3 separate regions of the Homo sapiens genome follow, and all the other regions are linked to region 1. The links are contacts of gene promoters, found by promoter capture Hi-C in blood cells and fetal thymus (Javierre and others, 2016). All regions are on one chromosome and are shown on one strand. Each heading gives the region's core, a stretch centred on a gene start or on the middle of the fragment in contact. The rest is flanking DNA. Distances are from core to core; before and after follow the strand shown.

What was found. The method cuts DNA at HindIII sites, captures the fragments that hold promoters and counts their contacts. A CHiCAGO score of 5 or more calls a contact.
Region 2: a fragment that was not itself captured here is called in contact with the fragment with the promoter of LARP7 in region 1 in 1 of 17 cell types (neutrophils); the score reaches 5.5 in neutrophils.
Region 3: a fragment that was not itself captured here is called in contact with the fragment with the promoter of LARP7 in region 1 in 1 of 17 cell types (neutrophils); the score reaches 6.3 in neutrophils.

Annotation. Positions count from the first base shown.
Region 1 is chr4:112,635,793-112,638,493 of GRCh38, forward strand. LARP7 (La ribonucleoprotein 7, transcriptional regulator) reads left to right here and starts at 1,351. Exons shown (of 13, transcript NM_016648.4): 1 at 1,351-1,447. It overlaps ZGRF1 (zinc finger GRF-type containing 1), which reads right to left and starts at 1,117. Exons shown (of 28, transcript NM_018392.5): 1 at 1,059-1,117. RefSeq lists enhancers at 914-1,133, 1,704-1,753, 1,794-1,903. The HindIII fragment of the contact is 18,676 bases long and covers 1-2,701 here.
Region 2 is chr4:108,645,813-108,648,513 of GRCh38, forward strand. No RefSeq gene overlaps it. Among named protein-coding and RNA genes, the nearest start is that of OSTC, 3.4 kb to the right of the region's middle. The HindIII fragment of the contact is 1,869 bases long and covers 461-2,329 here.
Region 3 is chr4:109,421,992-109,424,692 of GRCh38, forward strand. No RefSeq gene overlaps it. Among named protein-coding and RNA genes, the nearest start is that of SEC24B, 10 kb to the right of the region's middle. The HindIII fragment of the contact is 4,993 bases long and covers 1-2,701 here.

The DNA of each region.
Region 1 (2,701 bases), core at 101-2,600:
TTAGGAACCCAGTATTTACTAGTTTAGGATAACTTATATGCTATTTCACAATTGCAAGATAAATTCTCCATTATTTTCCTAAATTGAGATATTACTTCTGGAATGTACAGTTTAAAAAGAACTAAGAAGACTGAAACTCTTAAAGGATGGTTAAATTCGATTATAGGAGAAAACCTAAAAAAAAAAAGCTAACTGGATCTTTTAAAATTTAGAAGAGCTCTAATACTTATTCATTGAAAGTCAACACCCTTTCTTATCTTAGTATTAATCAGAAAAAATTATTTTAGACAACAGCATCATATATATTTAAGTGAGATGCAAAGAGTTTTTTCCAAGTGTTCATCTGTCCACGTCTACCAGACAATTCACCTGTTGACCGACTTCTAATAGGTGAAAGATTAATCTCCAAATAAGTTTTTAAAGACCCCAGATGCTCTGTGATAATTATATACATACATACATACACACAGATATACGTACATACACACATATACATACATATACATTGTGCTACTATATGTACGGACGCAATATATATACATAAAACTCGGTGTTCTCAGTAAAGTATGAGCCATTATTCATTTAAATACTAGATATTTTTCCTTTTTTTTTAAACAAGGAGTATTTTTTGAACCTAAACCTGAACCTCTAAATAGTTCGGATAACAAAGTTTTGGAATCATGAACTCAACATTGTTAACAAACCATCCAGTCCAAATAAACAAAGGAAACCCACATCTCATTTGCCAAGATTCTAAGAACCATAATCCTGTCACCAAATGACAATGGAGACTTGATCCTTTCTCAGTCCTAAATACAAACAGCAAAGCCCTCTTTGGTCCTCATACCTACTCGAAATTGCAAAGCAAGGCCTGGGAAAAACGGTGAAGAGGCACCACTTACTACAAGCAGTCCGAGTAGCTGTGACTGCGACCACCCCAATCCTGGTTCCAAACAGCATCCTTCCCGGTTCTCTTCTTAAGGAGCAGAGTCTTTCGTCCCTTCGCCCCAAATCGCTCAAGTCATTCCTAGGAAATCCCGAGAAACACTTCACCTCACCTGTCAAATTGCACAAAATCCACTTTCGAATTTCTCCCGCGAAACAACGTGACGTCATTAACGCGGGACCTCACCAGATGAGGACCCAAAACTTGGCCCGCCCACCTCCGCCTAAGCCAAAAACCGCCGCTTTCAAATCGCCAATCAAATTCTTCCTTGGCTTCGAGTCTCTCAGCCGGCCGCGCTCTCCGATGCCCAGCCCTCCTGGAACCACCTCGCCTGTGACGTAGGTGGAGCGCGCACTGCCTCCGGGCCCGTCTTTCTCAATTGGGACCGGAAAACGTTGTCGCTCATCCTATGACGCGAAAGTAACCGAGACTATCAGGATCCGGAGACGGAAATGTCCGAAGGCCGCAGTACTTGACCCTGTATTTTGGGAGTCGAACGGAGTAAGTTACAAGCGGCCTATAGGGTCGCACAGCTTGGGCGAAGTCTAATTAACTCTCCGTCCTTTTTCTTGCGGTCCACTCTATCATCTATCGTCCTTCTTACCCCGCCCCCCCGTCCTGCACACCCATCAGTTCCTTGGCCTAGTTATCTATGCGCACGCGCAAAAGTCTTCGGCAGCACTTGTAGTTCCCGTTTTCAGACAGTAAGGGCGCATAGGGGCCCGGCGTGGGGAGGTTTGGGGCGCGCCCGGCCTATGACGGCGTCCTTGCGGAAGTACGGGTGCCGAGAGAAGCAGTAGTCAATAAAGAGAGTGCCGTATTTCGCAGATTGGAGCTGAGCTGTGGCTGCCAGAAGATAGCGAACGTGAGGATTTATATTCTAAAATTATCATCTTCTTTTGCAGGACTCTGCCATCGTCCTCAAAGAGTAAAAAATCCAGTTACGGAAGGGAACTAACACTTGCTAGATATGGTGTGCAGAGTGCGTTTGCAAAGAAACTTAAGAGAAAACAAATGATAGGACACAGGGTGGTGGAAGATCTCAAAGAGTAAGATGCCATTTAACCTGGGCCTTGAAAATTTAATAAGGAAATTTAGACGAGAAGATTCAGACAAAGCAGAACACACAGGCCACTACGTGTTGAGGGACTTGAGTTGTAAGCAGTGACCAGAACAATGATTCTTAACCTGTTGTGGCACACTTCTTTTGAAAACTTAATTATATGGATTAGCTTCTCAGGAAAACGTGCATGTACCTATTAAAACATTTTGCGAGGCTGGGCACGGTGGCTCACGCCTGTAATCCCAGCACTTTGGGAGGCCGACGCGGGAGGATCACTTGAGGTCAGGAGTTCGAGACCAGCCTGGCCAATATGGCAAAATCTCGTCTCTACTAAAAACACAAAAATTAGCGGGGAGTGGTGGTGCACACCTGTAGTCCCAGCTACTCAAGAGGCTTGGTTGGGAGAATCGCTTGAACTCGGGAAGCAGAGATTACAGTGAGCCGGGATCGCGCCACTGCACTGCAGCCTGGGCCACTGAGAGAGGCTGCGTCTCCAAACAAACATTTTTCATATAATTTCCTCAGGAGAAATTACGAAATACTTTTAAATAGCAAACACACACAAATGACTTGGTGTCTTGTCTGACTCACTCTTCCAAGTTATCTATGTCTTTCGTGGTCTTTGAACTATTTTTCAACCCTGTAACTCGCTACAGCAACATGGAAATTAGGTTTGTCCAGTAAAGATGCAA
Region 2 (2,701 bases), core at 145-2,644, 4.0 Mb before region 1:
AGGCTTTCTTCTTCAGTCAACTGGTCATAGGTTGCCTGAAGGTATAATGCCATAGATATAGGTTGAGAGAAAAGAGACAATGTGGCAGGAATGTGGGCCATATGCATTTGAAACTATTTTTTGTACAACTTACTTGTACCTTCAAGATCTACTTGAGCTTGATCTTATGCACAACGCTTTCATTTGATGATAGAATGCTGCTGTAGACACCCACGTTTATTGGATGATAGATTAGACAATGCCAAATTGTCAAATGATGGGTAGTTCAAGTTTCATGGTAGCTTGTTGCCCACGGTCAATAGTTTCATCTCTACTAAGGTTCAGTGGCAAGCCTAGAGTCATTTGTCAATGACTGCCTGTGAAATAATCTCAGTGGCAAGCCTGGAGATTATTTCTTGACAGAGGATGACATAGGTTTGCGCCAAAGCTCTAAGGCTCTGTGCTACAGTGGCTTGTCAAAAGCTTCATAAAGCATGCCTATCTACCACAGACGTTACAAGTAATACTGGATCTACTAAGTTGTATGGCCCAAGTGGCAGAGCAGTTTGCTATTGAAGAACCTTTGCTTATTCAGGATCCCAATCAAAACTAGCAGCTTATTGGATTGCTCAGCAAATACATCAAAATGGTATGACCAAATGAAGTATATGTTGCAAGTGGTCCATCCATTGAGCATTGTGCAGCAAATATCCTTTATTTTGAAAGAGCTTTCTATGTATTACAGATCACTTAACCCCTAGACATTTCCCTGAGGAGACCCTGACATTTTATTGTGCTTATTTTTCCATCCTCTGGCATGCATTTGTCCTAACAATATATCTACTGTAGTTGCTACTTAGATCACTGTCTAATGAGCATATTATCAATGCAATGTCATAGTGTGATATTCTGTGAATGAGAAGGCAATCAAAGTTCCTGCAAATCAGATTATGACATAGAGCTGGGGAATTGATATAATTCTGAAATGGAGGTGTGTTGCTGACTCTGCCAGTTGAAAGCAAACTTCTTCTGATGATCTTTACCATAGGCATAAGTAGAAACAGCATTTGCCAGAACAGCTAACAGGTGCCACGAGATGTGTTGATGTGCTCCAGCGACAAAACCACAAGTGGAATAGCAGCAGCAGTTGGAGTCACCACATGATTAAATTTACAATAATCCACTGTTGTTCTCCAAGGTCCATCTTTCTTTTGCAAGGGCCAAGTTAATTGAGCGAAATGTGGCAGAAATCACTACTCAGCATCTTTCAAGTCTTTGATAGCACATCAGCCACTGAAGTCACTTTAGATTTATTATTTCTGTAGGTAAAAGCAGTTCTACTGGTTACACTTAGACTTTCCTGCCATAAAAGCCCTCATAATATGGGTCAGGAAACCAATATGGTGATTTTTCCATTTGCTGAGTACATTTATCCCAATTGTACATTCTAGAACTCAGTGATCTCACTACCTCTGGAAGGAGAACTAAAATTAGAATAGTGATAATGGGAAACTCGTTCCATATGTGTCTCTAATATTTGAATAAATTAATTATTTTACATTGGGCAGGTTCCTATGTTTTACTTGCATAATTTTATTTCTTATTTTCATTATTTATTTGTTTATTCATTTATTTTTAGAGATGGAGTTTCTCTCTTGTTGCCCAGGCTGGAGTGCAATGGCACGATCTCGGCTCACTGCAACGTCCGCCACTCGGGTTCAAGCCATTCTCCTGCCTCAGCCTTGCAAGTAGCTGGGATTAGAGGCATACACCACCATGCCCAGCTAATTTTGTATTTTTTAGTAAAGATGGGGTTTCATCATGTTAGTCAGGCTGGGTTCGAACTGCTGACCTCAGGTGAGGAGGCCTCCCAAAGTGCTGGGATTACAGGCATGAGCCACCGTGCCCAGCCATTACTTGCATATAATTTTAAAAACAACCTTCAAAATGTAAAATAACTACAACAATAACACCAAACCCCACAATATTGCATTAGAAAGAGTTTTTATTTAGATCATGAGACATAATAGTGCTTCGTACTCATGCTTATACAGAACCTAGCGCGAAAGAACATAATTCAAGACACTGTCAACCAAACTGCAAAATGTCTTCATAAATAAAAATCCAGGTTAATATTAGTATTATTATCCTACAAAAAACAAAGCTACTAATTTCCTCTCCAACACATATTTAAATAAACAGAAATCAACAATATTTGTAGCCTTTGTAATTCTAGTTTGTTTAGAATTTAGTTAAAAACTTATTTGTGGAGCTCTCCCTCTCTTTTGGCTGGCAGAACCATTTCTGACTTCAAGGCTTTTTATTAAAATATTCTACAATGAACACAGAAAGCTTGGTAGATACCATCTTTACACTTTTTTCTTCTTTGAATATATATTTGCTTGTGCACAGTAAGAATTATTAACATTTGCTTTTATATGTAGCTTAAGATGACAGCTCTACTGCATATTATATTGTAAACTGTGTTTCTCTCAACATTTTTCCTTCTTCATCTATAAATAGAAAACCACTGAATGATTGATTATATGTTTATTTAAGGGCATGCTCTAATGCCCACTGCTATATTCATTATTTCTTTGGTTTTCAGTTACAGAGTTTATGTTATGTTTAAATAGAACATTTTTCTGTAGGAATTGTGGGTTAGGACATGGATGATAACAGATATGCATATCTTACTCATGAAAGGTCTCTTTTATACGTG
Region 3 (2,701 bases), core at 66-2,565, 3.2 Mb before region 1:
TGGGATGTGCAGGTTTTTTACATAGGTAAACATGTGCCATGGTGGTTTGCTGCATCTATCAACCCATCATCTAGGTACTAAGTCCAGCATGCATTAACTATTTTTCCTGGTGCTCTCCCTTCCCCCACTCCCCCTGACAGGCCCCAGTGAGAAAGTAGATTCTTAATGTTGAAATTTTAGGTGTGGGACAAGGGGACTATAAAGATAAACAGAAATGGATGTAGATACAGAGTTTCCTGTACTCTCAGATGAGACGACTGCATAAACAGCTTTACTTAAGCAGATTCATGGTGCTGGGACTGTTCAAAAAGTGTTGCATGCTATGTAGTGCGAAGTTGAAGGATTCTAGCAGCATTAAAGAAAATGTTAATTTATTTGGTTCCATCTCATCCTAGTCAATAAGTCAACACATACAAATTGTTCCCCTTTTTGATTGCCTAGAAGTAAGCACTTTTATCTATTCAGTTTTTAGATTCCTATGCATTGCTTTCAAATCAATTGCATGAATGGAAAACTCTTCTCATTAATCACATTCCTCTCCACGCCAGCGAAGTCTCCTCAAGTCAGAGCACATCTACACATCGTCCACCAGATGGCGGTGGAAGCCCACCGACATTGTAGACTACGTAGGAAGAGCGTCCAGATGGAAAAGCGGGTTGGGGCTTTCTGGTCTGGTTTTTTTGTTTTGGGTTTTTGTTTGTTTGTTTTTGTTTTTTGTTTGTTCGTTTGTTTAAGACGGAGTTTCGCTCTGTCGCCCAGGCTGGAGTGCAGCAGCGCGATCCTGGCTCACTGCAACTTCCGCTTCCCGGGTTCAAGCGATTCTCCTGCCTCAGCCTCCCAAGCCCTGGGACTACAGGCGCAGGCCACCACTACGGGCTAATTTTTGTATTTTTAGTAGAGACGGGGTTTCATCATATTGGCCAGGTTGGTCTCAGACTCCTGACCTTGTGATCCGCCCACCTCGGCCTCCTAAAGTGCTGGGATTACAGGCGTGAGCCACTGCGCCCCGCTTCTGGTCTGTTTGTAAAACTAATCATTTCGGGAGGCTGAGGCAGGAGAATTGCTTGAACCGGGGAGGCGGAGGTTGCAGTGAGCTGAGATTGCGCCATTGCACTCCAGCCTGGTGACAGAGCGAGACTCCATCTCAAAACAAAAACAAAAACAAAATTAAGCATTAAAACGAAGAGGACTGTTGGATTTTAGAGCCTCAGATACGGGGCTTTTTTTAAAAGTCCATTTTTTTTTAAATTGTTAGAAAGATATGGCAATGACAAAGTAATATAAGTGATCTAATTAGATTATATTTTTTCTTGTTTTAAATTCTGGGTAATCTGTCCATTGAAGCTACTTGGCTGGGGAAGCAATTGAAAGTGTCATTCCTCAGTATGCTTGAAATCTCTCATACCCTTCATGCCCAACTAAGATATATAAGAGAAAATCCTGTTAGTGGCCATCAGCAGCTGCTGGAGAATGCACCTTTATATCCAGATTCTGGAATCTTTCAGGCAACCCTGCCTTCTTCCTCTTTGACTTCTATTTCTCATTCAACTCACCAGATTATTGGGATAATCATGTGTGTGGAGAAGATTCTCAATCTCTTTGAGTTTCAGATTTCTCATCTGCAGAATTAAAGTGTGTACTTTTTTGAGGAAATAATACATGAACATACATAGAACAATGCCTGGCACAGCCTAAATGCTCCAGAAATGGGAACTATTATTTTTTCCTCAGACTTTTACCTTATTTTGAAAGTAAGCAGGCTGGGCACGGTGGCTCATGCCTATAATCTCAGCACTTTGGGAGGCCGAGGCAGGTGGATCACCTGAGGTCGGGAGTTCGAGACCAGCCTGACCAACATGCAGAAACCCCATCTCTACTTGTGGGCGGAAAGCCACCCAGGTGCTGAGGCAAGAGACTGAAGGCACAAGCTGTTCCAGTATAATAAAAGAAAATAATTAGAATACAAAAAGTTATACTAAAAATAAGATATAGACATGATTATATATGAATATTATCAATCTTTAGTTGGTAGTGTTGCTCTTTTAGTATTATAATAATCTCTGTTTTATAATCATAACCTAGAAAACACCAGGCCATACAGAGTCAGGAGCTGAAGGGACATGGTGAGAAGTAACCAAAGGACAAGAGTGTGAGCCCTCTGTCACGCCCGGATAAGGGCCGCTTGAGGGTTCCTTGGTCTAGCGGTAAGGTCAGTGCCTGGGAAAGCACCCATTACTTGGCAGACCTTGGTCTAGCGGTAGGGCCAGTGCCTGGGAAGGCACCCGTTACTCGGCAGACCTTGGTCTAGCGGTAGCGCCAGTGCCTGGGAAGGCACCCGTTACTTAGCAGACCGGGAAAGCGAGTCTCCCTTTCCCCGGGGGGAGTTAGAGAACACTGCTCCACCAACTCTTGTGGGAGTCCTGACATTAGCCAGGCCTGCCCGCAGTCATCTGGAGGCTTAAACATCTGTGGTGCTGTGCTTCAGTGGTCATGCTCCTTGTCCACTTTCATGTTCTGCCTGTACACCTGGCACCTCCTTTTAAGTTCTTAAAAGATAGCAGTAACAAAATTAGTGAAAGTACTAAAGTCTTTGATCTTCCTGATAAGTGCACAGAAGAAATGCTGACATATACTGTCCTCCCTCTCTGCTTCAGCTATCACAAAGGGAAAGGCCCCCCGTCACGTGGACACGTGACTTGCT